Regions from separate parts of the Homo sapiens genome. Here regions 1, 2, 3 and 4 are each linked to region 5. The links are contacts of gene promoters, found by promoter capture Hi-C in human tissues and cell types (Jung and others, 2019). All regions are on one chromosome and are shown on one strand. Each heading gives the region's core, a stretch centred on a gene start or on the middle of the fragment in contact. The rest is flanking DNA. Distances are from core to core; before and after follow the strand shown.

What was found. The method cuts DNA at HindIII sites, captures the fragments that hold promoters and counts their contacts. A contact is called where the count stands out against the background at its distance.
Region 1: a contact is called between the fragment with the promoter of GFAP here and the fragment with the promoter of FMNL1 in region 5, in 2 of the 25 tissues and cell types used here (lymphoblastoid cells and mesenchymal stem cells).
Region 2: a fragment that was not itself captured here is called in contact with the fragment with the promoter of FMNL1 in region 5 in 1 of the 25 tissues and cell types used here (dorsolateral prefrontal cortex).
Region 3: a fragment that was not itself captured here is called in contact with the fragment with the promoter of FMNL1 in region 5 in 2 of the 25 tissues and cell types used here (hippocampus and mesenchymal stem cells).
Region 4: a contact is called between a fragment that was not itself captured here and the fragment with the promoter of FMNL1 in region 5, in 1 of the 25 tissues and cell types used here (hippocampus).

What each region holds. Positions count from the first base shown.
Region 1 is chr17:44,914,250-44,917,088 of GRCh38, forward strand. It overlaps GFAP (glial fibrillary acidic protein), which reads right to left and starts at 1,251. Exons shown (of 9, transcript NM_002055.5): 1 at 777-1,251. The coding sequence starts at 1,237. The HindIII fragment of the contact is 9,658 bases long and covers 1-2,839 here.
Region 2 is chr17:45,646,866-45,649,799 of GRCh38, forward strand. All of the region lies in intron 3 of LINC02210-CRHR1 (LINC02210-CRHR1 readthrough), which reads left to right. Among named protein-coding and RNA genes, the nearest start is that of LINC02210-CRHR1, 28 kb to the left of the region's middle. The HindIII fragment of the contact is 3,350 bases long and covers 1-2,934 here.
Region 3 is chr17:45,486,135-45,488,862 of GRCh38, forward strand. All of the region lies in intron 1 of PLEKHM1 (pleckstrin homology and RUN domain containing M1), which reads right to left. Among named protein-coding and RNA genes, the nearest start is that of PLEKHM1, 3.2 kb to the right of the region's middle. The HindIII fragment of the contact is 3,459 bases long and covers 1-2,728 here.
Region 4 is chr17:45,630,697-45,633,849 of GRCh38, forward strand. The region is part of intron 3 of LINC02210-CRHR1 (LINC02210-CRHR1 readthrough); the gene reads left to right. All of the region lies in intron 5 of LINC02210 (long intergenic non-protein coding RNA 2210), which reads left to right. It also overlaps the pseudogene ARF2P. Among named protein-coding and RNA genes, the nearest start is that of LINC02210-CRHR1, 12 kb to the left of the region's middle. The HindIII fragment of the contact is 3,614 bases long and covers 1-3,153 here.
Region 5 is chr17:45,220,388-45,223,381 of GRCh38, forward strand. FMNL1 (formin like 1) reads left to right here and starts at 1,498. Exons shown (of 27, transcript NM_005892.4): 1 at 1,498-1,866. The coding sequence starts at 1,738. It overlaps FMNL1-DT (FMNL1 divergent transcript), which reads right to left and starts at 1,378. Exons shown (of 3, transcript NR_147507.1): 1 at 962-1,378; 2 at 1-67. RefSeq lists silencers at 1,073-1,522, 1,533-1,582, 1,863-1,972, 1,895-2,189 and enhancers at 2,036-2,536, 2,537-2,994. The HindIII fragment of the contact is 26,209 bases long and covers 1-2,994 here.

The DNA of each region.
Region 1 (2,839 bases), core at 1-2,500, 310 kb before region 5:
CTGGAGGATGAGCAGATGTGGGCTTTTGCCTTAACTCATTACTAAGGTGCCTTATCAGGGTTGGTGCACCTGCTTCTGCTCACACAGGCGCATCCACAAGCATACACTCACTGTTGCACACACACACACACACACGCACATGTCCTCCTGCACTTGAAGGCACACATGCATGTCCTGTCAGCTCAGTGAAGCGCCATGCCCCTGGGGATTCCTCTGATCCCAGGTAACCACCTTTTGAAATGAATTTTATTATGACCACCGCTTCACAGCTGTGCAAGTCAAAGTAACTTGATGGGGGTCACAAGCTGGTGGCAGGCAGTCACCTGTGCTTTGCGCCCAGACCTGCCTGCTCTTTCCCTCACTTTCTTCACCCCAGAATCCAATCTCCCTCATGGACATCAACCTTCTCCGCTTCCAACTCCTCCTTTATATGGACACAGGCTCAGAATAGGTGAGCTCGCTGCCCACAGTCACAAAGCCCAGCCATGAATGAAACACAGGGGCCCCGCTGCTCCTGCACTGCTTTCCCCAGTAGGGAGGTGCTGAGGGGACCCTGGACTCCTGGCAGAAGGCATGCGGGCATCAGATCCCCGGGGCCCTGGGCCTGTTTCTGGTCCCTCCCATCATGTTGGGGGGCAAGGATAGTGCCCCATCAAGAGGTAGGGAGGCCCAGGGAGCAGGGAGGTTCGGCCCCTCCCTGAGACTTCTCGGGCACTCCTTCTTGGGGATTCAGCCCCTTCTGCTCACAAGGCCCCCCTTCCCCATCCCCTCCTCACTTCTGCCTCACAGTGGCCAGGTCCTGTGCCAGATTGTCCCTCTCAACCTCCAGCCGGGCGCTGTTGGCGGTGAGTTGATCGAGCCGCAGCCGCAGCTCTCGCAGCTCAGCCTGGTAGACGTCTGCCAGCTTGGTGGGCTCCTTGGCCCGCAGCTGGTTCAGCTCAGCAGCCAGCGCCTTGTTTTGCTGTTCCAGGAAGCGAACCTTCTCGATGTAGCTGGCAAAGCGGTCATTGAGCTCCATCATCTCTGCCCGCTCACTGGCCCGGGTCTCCTTGAAGCCAGCATTGAGTGCCCCAGCCAGGGAGAAATCCACCCGGGTCGGGAGTGGAGGGGGCATTCGAGCCAGGGAGAGGCGGGTGCCAGGACCCAGACGGCGGCCAGGAGCCAGGCCCCCCACCATCATCTCCCCTGAGGAGACGTAGGAGCGGCGAGCAGCGGAGGTGATGCGTCTCCTCTCCATCCTGCTCTGGCTCTGCTCGCTCCTGGGATGCGAGGGCTTTATGAAGGAGTGGGCTAGACTGGCGATGCCCGGGTGCCCCTGGCAACACCCCCTGGCATAGCCTGAGGGGGTGGGGTTGGGCCGCAGCCCAGCTATGGGGAGAGCTCCCCTCACCCCACTGAGGTCACTGTGCCCAGAGGCAGAGCTTCCTGGGCACGCCAACTCCTGCATGAGGCAGGTGGTACCTGGAGCCAGACCATGGGTCTGGGGCCCTGACCGCTGAAGCAAGAGGACCCTCTCTCTAGGAAGGTGGGTCAAGAAAGGGTTGGTTGGACCATGATGAATACTTACAATTATTATGCATCAATTAAAAAGGAAGGAAAGGGCTGAGTGGGGTGGCTCATGCTTGTAATCCCAGCACTTTGGGAGGCTGAGGCTGGAGGATTGCTTGAGCCCAGTAGGTTGAGGCTGCAGTGAGCTGTGTTTGCGCCACTCCAGCCTGGGCAACAGAGAGAGACCTTGTCTCACAAAAAAAAAAAAAAAAAAGGGAAGGAAGGGCTGTACCAGATGACCTCTGACCTGCTTTCCAACTTTTTGATTTCATAACCCAGGCATTATCTCACTCAGCTGTAAGTGCCTGCAAGGTGCTGGGAATTTGGCGAAGAATGAACCTGTTCTGTACCCTCAAGGGCCACCTCATTTCCTACTAGGCCTCATTCCCAGCAGACTCCTGGAGTCCTTCCCTTGAACACAGATGTCCCACATTCCTGCTCTCTGCCCATTCATTCCCTGGAGTTCTGGGGCTGGGGGCTGGGATTGGACACCAGCCCTTTGTCTAAGGGTCAATCATGGCCTCTATGTGGCAGTGGAGGTCCTGATAGGGCAAGAGGGGGCCGGCACTCTCTTGCCTTATCAGGACTTTAGCCCCTGGATCTGTCCCTCCAGGTCACCCCTTCCTTGTCTGGCCTCCCTGTGCCTCTCTCCCAGAGACCAGGCCTTGACAGCTCCACAAAGCCGTTACACATGAGCTGGCTGTGCTGGCTCGTCTTTATTCCTGCAGCGCCCCGTTTCCCTGGCCACCCCTCCGTCTCCCACTGGAGATTTATTTCCTCGAGTTCCCACACATCAGCCTGGAGAGATGGGAAGAACCTCTGGGGATGGATGGGTTTGGAAACGCTGGAGCCACTGGGCCCAACTAGGAGCCTGAGACCTGGGCCCTGTTGTCCCTGGAGACTTCAGGTCCATCTACGCCCTCCACTCTGGTCCCACAGGGTCAGAACCCTGCCCAGTCCCCTCACCCATTTGTGTCCTTGGACTTCTGGGAAGCAGACAGCCCTCCTCTCCCCCCCTGCCACCCACTGTCCATGCCTGGGCATCCCCTGATCCCCTTTCCTGGGCACAGGCTGAATAGAGCCTTGTTCTCCACCGCCGGTGGCGCCACACAGCAAGGGCAGCCCCTAGGGGGCTGTGCTGCTTTTATCCCAAGATGCCAGGCTGTCAGGCTGGGGTGCAATGCAAGCCCCCTGCTCAATGGGCTTCTCGGAAGGCATTTGAGGGGGGCTGGGGTGCGGCGGGAAGCAGGCACTGTGCCCACCCCGAACATTGTGTCTGTGCCAAGGTGAG
Region 2 (2,934 bases), core at 310-2,809, 430 kb after region 5:
TGCTATGATTTGCGTTAAAAAAAAGATACAGTCTCCCCACTGTGTTGTCAAATCTGAAATAAGGGACTGTGTTTTTGCAAAATTCTCTTCCAAGGCCAAGCACAGGGTCAATGTTCAGCAAATATTTGGTGAGTTAATGAATGAAATGAAAGCACTCTCCTTATGCTCCTTGGCTGAGTGATGTGGAGAAGAGTTCCAGAACAATATAATTTAGTTTCTTTCTCCTTTTAACCGAGCCTAGAAATTCTCCACAAGGCATATGCAAATACCCCAGACATGTATTTTTCCAGGCGTGTGTTTTATGTGCAAATACTCCTGCATATGTATGATTTTATTTTACTTTTTGAGACAAGGTTCATTGTCCAGGCATTGTCTAATGCACCAGTGCATTGGTGCCATCTCGGCTCACTGCAGGCTTGACTTTCCGAGCTCAGGTGGTCCTCCCACCTCAGCCTCCCAAGTAGCTGGGATGACAGGTGCACACCACCATGCCCAGCTAATTTTTTGTATTTTTAGTAGAGGTGGGGTTTCACTATGTTGTCCAGGCTGGTCTTGAACTCCTGGGCTCTAGCAATCTGCCCACCTTGGCCTCCTAAAGTGCTGGGATTACAGGCATGAGCTTCTGCTCATATACGTTACTTGTTCATCTGACTGAAGACCCCAAAAGAGACCAGCACCCCAAAGAAGCATGTATTTCTCTTTGGAACCAGAAGCAAACATCCTTCTGTTTGCTTGGGATGCATGGGATGAGCATGCAGTAGGTGTTTAATAAATACTTGTTGACTAATTAGGGGGCATAAATATGTAAAAGTGGTAAATTAGCAAGAAAGAGCTGCAGTGTAGATAATCAAATAACAAAGTTGTCTAGGACAAGAGAATCTATCTCTGAGGGCTCTGTGTAGGAGGAGAGGTGGTGTTGGCTAGTGAGGCAGATCTGCCTTCTAATTAGGCTCCAATCAGGATAGTATTGCAATTAGCTCGGGATATTATAGCAGTTAGCTTCTATTCTTGGAACAAATTCCTGGGAGATTTAAGTTGGGTGGTAAAAGAAGGTTGTCCCAGGAATAAATTTGCTGTGAACCGCTTTGGAGTGACTACTTCATATGTGCCTAATTGAACCGCCAATGTAAACCTGATTGGATTGTTTCCTTCTTTATCAGCGACACTTAAACATGAGCTCAGGAATTTGGACAGCCACTTAACAACAGAACACAGCTCGGGAAATTGCAGATTTCAAATTTCAGAAAAGTCGATGAATTTAGACAACTTGAGTGTCTTCTTTGTGTTAGGGTAGACAGGCTTTGGCCTCCAAGATCTGGCTGACAAGTGCTTGCTGCTGAGACAGGCACTGAAAAGAGTAAAAAATATAATGTCTTCAATTATCTTCCCAGTTATTGAGACACTTAAAAACTCCACCCCAGCCCACCCTGACAGTCTCCTGTAAGGAGCTCAGTTTTCTCTGTGTCAACCTGATGACAGACCCAGGAGGATGTTGTGTCTGGGAATGTTTGCTCTTCCTGGCTGGGGTGAGTAGGGCTTGGCAGCAGAGACAGTGCGAACAGAACCAAGCCACGAATCCTGGCTCTCAGTCCATCCAGCCAGCAGCTTTTCGCTTCATCCTTCACCCTCCACACTTCTTCTCTTTCTTCTGCATCAGGAGAGGCAGATGTAGAGCCCAGAGTTTTTTGTCAAAGAGCCTGAGTTGGAATCCTGCCTGGCACCATCGCTGGGGGGTGACTGGCTTTCTGAGGCCCAGTTTCGTCATCTGTAAAATGGGCATGATAATATCTGCCCAAATCATTTCAGGAGGTTGGTTGTTGAGAAGAGGTGGTGCCTGTACGACTGCCCTAAGCTTGAAAGGACAGCAATCGGTGCCGGCTTTGTAGCTCACAAACTTTACCTTAAATGCTGACCATCACAGGGTCTTGGGACAGGCCCTAGGACCAGCCCCCCCACCCTTGCTGGTGCAGGGCTTCCCTGCAGATGGCGCTGTGCCTGGAGAATGCAGCCAGCAGTAAATCAGGGCAGCTTGATTAAACATGTCCAAGTCTAGTCAAGCCAGACTAGATGTGGGCGTGTTTGGCACTATAGGTGGATCCAGTCTGGATTTCCTTTACCTGCATGTCCTGGGTGTGTATCCCTCACAAAAGTTCCCCCCGCCATCACATTCACACCTCACCAAATTAAGCCACCCAGCCCCCACTTGGCCCCCTAGGAACCACTGCAGCAGGCAGTGTGTTTAATCCCTGTGAAGCATTTTAGCATTAGATGAAGATGACGCCTTGGGCTCCCATCCGCCTGTGACAGAGGCTGCCAGCTCCACTCTTGGAAACACCCTTGTTTTGACTTAGTTTCCCATCCAAGATGAAGGTAGGCAGACTGAAAAAGCCAATGCTAAAAGAAAGAAGACCCCAAGACCCCTGTATGAAGCTTAGAAGGCAAAGGCCTGTCTTCACAGAGCCAGCTAAAGAGCTAGGCTTTGGCGCCACCACATCCTGTTTGGAATCCAAGCTCCACCGTTTAGCATTTGTGTGACCAGGGGCTTGTTAAGGAAGGCCCCAAGGCTCCCTTCCCTGCGTATAAAAAGAAGAGATGGTACCTGCTTTATAGGATGCAGTGGTGAGGGTTCAATGAGAAGAGGCTTGCAATAGGCTTGGTATAGTGCCTGGCACATGGGGATATTCAAATAGTGCTGACTATTAGATCAGGAGCAGACATTGGGGTAGGAGGTATCAGCCCGGGGAGGAGACGACAAGGAGAGTTAGGGAGGGAAGGACGTGCCAGGGAAGAGACGGTGGGCTCTGCAGAGGAAGGCTTCTTGGTACCTCTCGAAAGCTGCTGTGGGAACACACCTTTACTCTGCTGACATTTTCAGACAGCCGTGCTGGCAGGGATCTGGGCACCTGGCAAAGCGAGCTGACCATCTGGCCGGCT
Region 3 (2,728 bases), core at 165-2,664, 270 kb after region 5:
TGAACCTGGGAGGCGGAGCTTGCAGTGAGCCGAGATCCCGCCACTGCACTCCAGCCTAGGCGACAGAGAGAGACTCCGTCTCAAAAAAAAAAAGATAAAATAAAAAAATAATAATAATAATAATAATTTATGTCTCAAATAAATAAATAAATAATAAACTGAAGCTGGCTGGGCGCGGTGGCTCACGCCTGTAATCCCAGCACTTTGGGAGGCCGAGGCGGGTGGATCACGAGGTCAGGAGATCGAGACCATCCTGGCTAACACGGTGAAACCCCATCTCTACTAAAAATACAAAAAATTAGCCGGGCGGGCACCTGTAGTCCCAGCTACTTGGGAGGCTGAGGCAGGAGAATGGCGTGGACCCAGGAGGTGGAGCTTGCAGTGAGCCAAGATTGTGCCACTGCACCCCAGCTTGGGCAACAGAGCGAGACTCCATCTCAAAAAAAAAAATTAATAATAATAAACTGAAGCTAAGAGAGACAGGGCCAGACAAGAGAAGGGTCACTTGGCCTAAAACAGAGTCAGAAATGCCACAAAATGACTGACAAGAGCTCAGAGAAATCCAGCAGAAGAGCCACTTGAAAATTCACAAGACAGGACTGAGCCTCTGGGGTTCCAGCCACAATGCAGGACACCTCTGTTTGTAGGCAGCCATAGCACCCCACCTATCTGTATCTGTTCCATCATGCTCAGGGAGGCAGGGCTCAGATGGTCAGTGACATAAGAACTCACGGCGGGAATCAGAAGGAGGCTTTGTGTCTCTTGACTGTGGGGACAGTACTGCGTCACCCACCCTGGTGGCCCAGATTCTGAATCTACCATCCTATGGAACTGGTTCCACTTTCTGTCCTCAAAACGCTCTTCATTGACACAAAGAACCAAAGTGAAGAGAGGTGTGGCTTCAAGGAGACCTACCTGAAGGGAGTGAGGCAAAGCTGGGCAACAGTACCAAAGGGCTCTTGAACATGACGGGTGAAATCTTAGCAGGGGAAAGGTGACTGGTGCCATTTAGGAAGCCCCAAACCACACCAAGTCTACTGCCACCCTGTGTATTCATTCGCCTTCACATAGCTCTCCAGAGTGCAGAAAGCAAGCTTCTCTGATGTCCCTCTCTAACCTCATTTAATTCTCACAGCAATCCCGTGAGAGAGTGATTATCCCTGTTTTACAGAGGACAAAACTGAGGCTCAGTAGCAATGGGTCTCGGGTAAGGGACAGAACTCTCTGGTTTCTTCATCCCAACTCCTGCATCTTTCCCTGGACCAAAAGGCCTCAGGTCTTTGGCTCAAATTCAGACAAACTATTACTTCTTCTTTAGAGGTACTCGGAAGCTCCATTTCATCACAGAAGGTCTGAAACCAACAAGAAACAGTTCTGCCAATCAGGTTTATAGCCCCAACCAGCTGAGACCAGGTCCTACCAATGCTCCTAAAGTCTCAGAGCTATACTTTCTTAAATGTTCCAACATAGTTAGGAAGGAACAGTTCCGGTTGGTTTCCTGCATTATACTGCCTGGCCTTCTCTATATGTCCAATTTCACTTCCTCCAGAGATCAAGGAAGCAAAAAAAGAGAATGACTTGGATGAGACTTACGTTAAAAGAAGAAAGGGATAACCTGGTTCCACCACTCTCAAAACACTCCACCATCAGTGAACAGCAACCTCTTCTCTTGAGGGACTCCTCAGCCACTCCCCACGGCCTTCTCTCCACTGCCTGAATTGTGTAACTGGCTGTTCAGAGCCACAGCCTGGCTTTAAGCCATCCAACTGCTGTACCAATTGATGAGTCATGTTTTTTCAATTGGAAAAGAATGACAAAGTTATCCTCTGATTCAGAAAGGCAGCTGATCTTTCAGGCATGTGAGTGCTGACTGAGGAAACTGCACCTCTGTCCACCTGAGGAAAGCTGGATTTCTGTGATGGGTGGAGTGGTGGGGGTTGGAGCTTTGAAGCAATTAAATACCAGATGAAGGGTGAGAAACTTTTAGCTTGTGATTCCCAGACTCAGGGCTAGTGGATGAGGGCAGAATTGTGGAGTCAGTGAACACTAGCTATCTTTCTTTCCTCCCTCCTTCCTTCCATCCAGTATCACCCAGCTTTCCTGTATTCTTGTCCCATATCCCAGAGGATTCTAACAAGGACCAAACTCTGAATGAATGAAAACAGGACCGTTGCCTGACCCATTCACCATTGTATTTCTAGTACCTGGAACAGTGTTTGTCACACACTGGTGCTCAAAAAATAAGCTGTTGAATGAATTGATTAATAAAATAAAAACAAGGCACGGGGTAAGTACCTCCACTTCACACACTGTGGGAAGTTGGGGTATACAACTCTTAAGTGCTGGGGCAACTGTGGAGCTCCTGTCATTAAGCCAAGCTGCCAATAAGGCTGAAAACAACTTAAATATACTGCATATTAATGGGAGGACATTGAAGGTAAACAGCATTCACTTTTCAAAGGAATACGACTATAAGTGGCAAGCAGAGACAGTGTTCTTTGGGGCTCTTTAAAACTGCAATCAGCCAGGTGCGGCGGCTCACGCCCGTAATCCCAGCACTTTGGGAGGCCGAGGTGGGTGGATCACCTGAGGTCGGGAGTTGGAGACCAGCCTGATCAACACAGAGAAACCCCCATCTCTACTAAAAATACAAAACTAGCCGGGCATGGTGGTGTATGCCTGTAATCCCAGCTACTCGGGAGGCTGAGGCAGGAGAATCGCTTGAACC
Region 4 (3,153 bases), core at 278-2,777, 410 kb after region 5:
CAAGTCATCTGCCCACCTTGGCTTCCTGAAGTGCTGGGATTACAGGCCTGAGCCACCACACCTGGCTGACAGATTGTTGTTATCATTAATGTCACATGAACTACTGCCAAAGGCGTCTCCCCTTCTTGTGCTTGGAGGGTGTGTTGGATGCCACCTGTGCCCCTCCCTGGAGATGCTTTTGGCCCCACAGCTTCCTCCAGCCAATGTAGCAGTGACTGGGTCTGTGCAGGTTTTGGTCACCTTCACTCAGGTGTGATGGGGTGGTGCCTTTCTTTGGCCTGCCCCAGGTATCTTTTACTTTTTGGGATGTATTTGATGCTATAGTATGGAATGCTGCAGAGACTTCCGGCACCAACCCCCTGGAGTTGGACTTTATTTCACAGGTTGAGGGCACCATCCTCCACAAGAATCCCCAACTTCAGCCACCAGCTGGCAACAGGTTTGGGGGTCCTCAGCCCACCCTCACTTCTGGCCAGATGGCTACAAATTTGGCGATTTCCACTACCCCCTCAGGTTTGATCACTTGTCAGAATGATTCACAGAATTCAGGGACATGCTATGCTTACAACTACAGTTTTATTAATTGATCAATAAAGCAAAAGGATATAAATGAACCAGTCAAAGGGAAAGACACATAGATCTGGGAGGACACCAAACGCAAAGCTTTCATTGTTCTCTCCCCGTGGAGTCAGGGGCTGTTACCTTTCCAGCACATCGATGCGTGACAATGTATAGAGTATTGCCAACCAGGGACGTGCTCCTGAGCTTCAGTATTTGTCATTTTTATTGGGGCTTCCTTGCATAGGTACGATTGATTGAATCATTGGCCATGTGACTCAAACTTTAGCACCCTCATTTCCCCAGAGGTGATCTTGTTAGCATCCACTATCTAGGGGCCCACTCTGAGTCACCTTGTTAGCATCAACTTAGAGGTGTGGGCCCGCTATGATAACAAAGATACTGCTGATCGGGCGCGGTGGCTCACGCCTGTAATCCCAGCACTTTGGGAGGCCGAGGCGGGCGGATCACAAGGTCAGGAGATCGAAACCATCCTGGCTAACATGGTGAAACCTTGTCTCTACTGAAAATACAAAAAATTAGCCGGGTACGGTAGCGGGCGCCTGTAGTCCCAGCTGCTCGGGAGGCTGAGGCAGGAGAATGGTGCAAACCCGAGAGGCGGAGCTTGCAGTGAGCCAAGATCGCGCCACTGCACTCCAGCCTGGCGGACAGAGCCAGACTCCGTCTCAAAAAAAAAAAAAAAAAAAAAAAAAAAAAGATACTGCTATCACTCTGAAAAGTCCAAGGGTTTAGAGGCTACCTTCTAGAAACTGGGGACAAAGACCAGCCAAATTCATTACTATAAGATGCCCATAGGAATCTCTTGGTGTTCATACCAATGTGACCCAGAAGTATGGGTGGCCTAACACCTGTTGAGTTGTTCTTGAGCAACAGGGAATGGGTACTGAAGGATACTTGTTTCCTCTTTTGTCCTCTGGGTGGACAGTTCTGACAGGCATTTGATATGGCTTCTTAGAATGTCCAACAACGGTGAGCAGTGGTCCCATAGTGGGGGCCCAGCTTGATAACTCGTCCTTCTATTGTCTGTCCCTCCTGCCCTGTTTTACTCCCTCAGCCCCTCATTCCTGATCTCTGGGATCACTTCCCAAAGAACGTACCTGCACTTAAGCTTTTGTCTCAAGTTTTGCTTTAGAGGGCTAGCCCTAGAATGCTTTTATTATACTAAACTTTACATGTTTTAAAAAACAATGTTTTGGCCAGGGGCAGTGTCTCACGCCTATAATCCTAGCACTTTGGGAGGCTAAGGCAGGCAGATCACCTGAGGTCAGGAGTTCGAGACCAGCCTGACCAATATGGTGAAACCTCGTCTCTACTAAAAATACAAAAATAAGCAGGGTGTGATGGTGTGCCTATATTCGCAGCTAATCGGGAGGCTGAGACAGGAGAATTGCTTGAACCCAGGAGGTGGAGGTTGCAGTGAGCCGAGGTCACGCCACTGCATTCCAGCCTGGGCTGCAGCAAGACTCCATCTCAAAATAAATAAATTAATTAATTAAAAAAAAGTTTTTTTCCCTGACGTGGAAATTAAGTGATTAGAAAACGAGACTAACTTTTTCAGGATATATTCTTGTTGTTAATATGGTGCAGGGCTGTGATGCTTCTGCAAAATGTAAGTTGAGTGTATAGCAGGCCTCCTAACTCTAGAGATGATGTATCCTTCCGTATCGATTGCCTTTGTGAAGTCACACACATAAGCAGGGAGAAGTCGTGAAGATACATAAACAGCTGCGTTTTCCAGGCTCAGATCACTAACATGCTCGTGATTTCTTTCTAGGTCTGATTTTTATGGTTGACAGTAATGACAGAGAGCAGATTGATGAGGCCTGGGAAGTGCTAACTTACTTGTTAGAGGACGATGAGCTCAGAAATGCAGTTTTATTGGTATTTGCCAATAAACAAGTATGTTGTTATTGGCTTTCTGAATGCTGGAACTGAAATTTACTGCCAAATGTCTCACTTGTAAATACAGACATTTAAATGAGATGTCTGCCTCCCTCTCTCCAGTACCAACCATAATATCTCCCACCATCTCCTTGCTAGAATGTCTTTTTTTTTATTGAGACAGAGTCTCACTCTGTTGCCCAGGCTGGAGTACAGTGGTGTGATCTCAGCTCACTGTGACCTCCACCTCCCGGGTTCAAGTGATTCTCCTGCCCCAGCCTCCCAAGTAACTGGGATTACAGGCATGCGCCGCCATGCCCACCTAATTTTTGTATTTTTAATAGAGACTGGGTTTCACCATGTTGGCCAGGCTGGTCTGGAACTCCTGACTTCAAGTGATCTGCCCACCTCGACCTCCCAAATTGCTAGGATTACAGGTGTGAGCCACTGAGCATCTACTAAGTTCCAGACTTGGTTTTAGGCTTAAACCAAGACAGATAAAGTCCTTGTGTTCTTGGAGTTTACGTTGCTAGTGGGAAGAGAGTCAACCAATAAATAACATGAAATGTGCCAGGTGTGGTGGCTCATGCCTGTACTCCCTACACTTTGGGAGGCTGAAGCGGGGGGAATCACTTGAGCCCAGGAGTTCAAGACCAGCCTGGGCAACATAGTGAAACCCCATCTCTACAAAAA
Region 5 (2,994 bases), core at 248-2,747:
CTTCCAGGGTCTTCCTCCAGATTAGATGTTAACTCTCCGTCTCTTGCTTAAAGTCTTGTCAGTGGCTCTGAATGTGAGGGCAGAAGGAGGAGGATGCTGTCAGGGGAGGGGACACTAATGGCTCCTGACCTGGCCTAGAGATAATTCGGGGCTCCTTCAGCGGGCCCTCCCTCCTCAGTGCCCTGGAAGTGTAGGGAGGGGTCAGTTGGGGATCCCCACAAATTAAATGGGGAATGAGAGGAGCAACTGAAAGTCTCAAATTCAGGCTATAGATGGGACCCCAGCCCCCCATACTCTCCCGTCCTACATGAGATGGGCAGTGGAGGGCCAGGACAGCAACTCCAAGCCAGTGTAGGTTTTGGAGGTAGACAGTGAGGAGGCTTGCTTCTGTCCTTTGTTAGCTGAGTGCCCTTGGACAGCTTACTTACCTACTCTCAGCCTCAGTTTCCCCATCTCTAAAATAAGGCTACCAATACCTACCTTCTCTGGCCATTGTCAGGATGAATGAAAGAGCTCTGAAAGTATTTCTGTAATTAGCAGACATCAGAGATTGTTATTCTCCAAGGTAAGAGGCCCCCCTAGATCCCTGGCGGTGACAGTGTCAAGATTCTTTTTCCCTCCTCTGCGGTGCCCACTCCTTTTCCAGCCTTGTGGCTGGCTCTCATCCTCCTTTCCGCAACCCCCCACTCCTCCTTGGGACCACCTTGGCGGGCCCAGCTTCTCGCAGCCTGCCATATTCCATAGGTGCCCCCATTCTAAAACCTGTAGGGGTGCCCTGCACAGGCGCACGGTTGGTCGAGGTGGGACAGGTGGCGGGGGTCTCCACTGGCCTGCGTCCGCGCCCCCCACCCTGTTTAGGAGTTCCTGTTTGGAGATGGCTCCCCCTCGTCCTCAGCTCGTCTCTGGGCTAAGCAGGGGAGGAGAGAAATAAAAGGTGGGGGGCCTGGAAGGGGGTTCCCACCTTCTCAGTCCGGGACGCGAGACGGGAACGCAGCCCTGGCGCCCCAACGCTGCACCACCGTGGGTCTCCGAGCCGTGCTCGCAGTCGCTGAGATCCTCGGTGCGGAGAAGATGTGCCCCTCCAATCCCCAGGCCGTGATCCCCTTCACCCAGACCCGGCCAATCCCTCGCCCGAGGCGAGCGGGAGGATGCGGTTCTAGGACCCGGAGGCGCCGCCGAGCGCGCCGCCGCCTCGGCCTCGCCTCGGTGGCCTCCCGCTCCGGCAGGTGAAGCGGCGCCGGCCGCCCCCTCTGCGGCAGGTGAAGCGGCTCGGCAGCCCACTCCCCGCCCGCCATGGTTGCGGGGGTCCCCCGGCCAGCGCCCGCCCCCTCCCTCCAGCCCGCCCCCCTGGGGCTGGGTGCCCGGCGGCGGCGGCGGCGAACTGCGGTTTGCGCGCACGGGGAGCGACAGCAGAAGTTCGAAAATCGCCGAGGGGGGAGCCAGCGCCGCAGCTTCCTGCCCCCGGCCCAGCCCTCTGGCCCCGGCGGCCTGCAGCCTGACTTCCTCCCCCAACCCTGCAGCTCGCCGCCCGGTCCCACGGACGGGGCCGCCCCGATGGGACGCCGCGCTCCGGCCCCTGCGCGCCGCTGAGCCGAGCGCCCCCCGCTGCCGAGACCCCCGCCGCCACCGCCAGCCGCTGCCCCCTCGCCCCCGCCCGGGCCGGGAGCCTCGTCCCCGTCCCCCGGAAAGCTGGATTTCCGAGGCTGGAGGCGCCTGGCCGGCTGGGTGGGGACCACCATGGGCAACGCGGCCGGCAGCGCCGAGCAGCCCGCGGGCCCCGCCGCGCCGCCCCCCAAGCAGCCCGCGCCTCCCAAGCAGCCGATGCCCGCGGCCGGAGAGCTGGAGGAGAGGTTCAACCGCGCCCTGGTGAGTGCGACCCGGAGGCGGGTCGGGCGCGGGCGGGGGGCGGCAGGGGCGCGGCAGGGGCTGGGCGCGCGTCCCCGCCCCCGGGGACTCAGGTGCCGCTTGGAGATCCCCGGTCCGGCAGCTGCCCCCTCCAGGAGGTGGGAGCGACAGTGGCCTTTTTTTCAGAGTGACTTAGCACTCTCCCCCCAAAACTTTCTTCAGTTATCGCCCGGTCTCCCTCCCTAAGACGCCTCCACCCCAGCTGGGTCTTAAGGTCTAAACAAGTATGTCCTGTGAAGAAGTTGGGAGCGGGGCACGCACAGGGGTCCCGGGTCGCCCCCTTCCCCACTGCACGCAGGCCCAGCCACCGGGCGCGGGTCTGGGGCATCTGCCTTTCTGTGTCTGGAGTCAAAGATGAAAGGGTTACAACCTCCCGGGAGCGGGAGACCTGCTGGAGGTGTTGGGTCCTGATTTGTTGGGCGCCTGGGCTGCGGGGAATGGGGTTGTCGGATCATGGCCAGGAGGTATCTGTGTTTCTACCCCGCCATATGTCAGAGCCAGGGTGCCTGTGGGTCTTTATCTTGGGGCATCCTTTCCAAGCCACTGAAGGGAGTAAGATGAGGGAGGGTGGGGTCAGGACGGGTGGGTCGCCCAGGCTAGGGGTGGAGCAAAATCTGGAACCACCCCCCTCTGTGCCTACCTGGGGAATTGGAGCGGGGTCGCTGGGGAATAGGTCTCTGGGAGGGAACCAGCAGCTCAGGCCGAGCCTGGAAACAGTCAACATGTTCAGTGGGGTGGGGGCTCCAGAGCAGACTCAGGGGTCTCCAAGACCCTGCATAAGGCAGAAGTAGGGAGAGGAAGAGCTGCTCACTCTCACTCTCCCCACCCCCGACGCCCTGGCCCTGGCTCCCTCCTCTAACTAATTGCCTGGTGGCCTGCCTGCTGTCAGCCTTCCCTTGCTGGACGCTGGGTGACAGGCAAAATGAGGCTGTGCCTTCTCCCAGATGCATTTCCCAGTCCCTGCAGGTCTGAGGGTGGGGGCTCAACGGAGACACAGGCCGCAGAGGGTTCTGGCTCAGTTGGTGGCCCTCCATCTCCTTGACATCATTTCCCCTCGCCTGGCTGGTCATTAGGCCATACGTGCTAGAT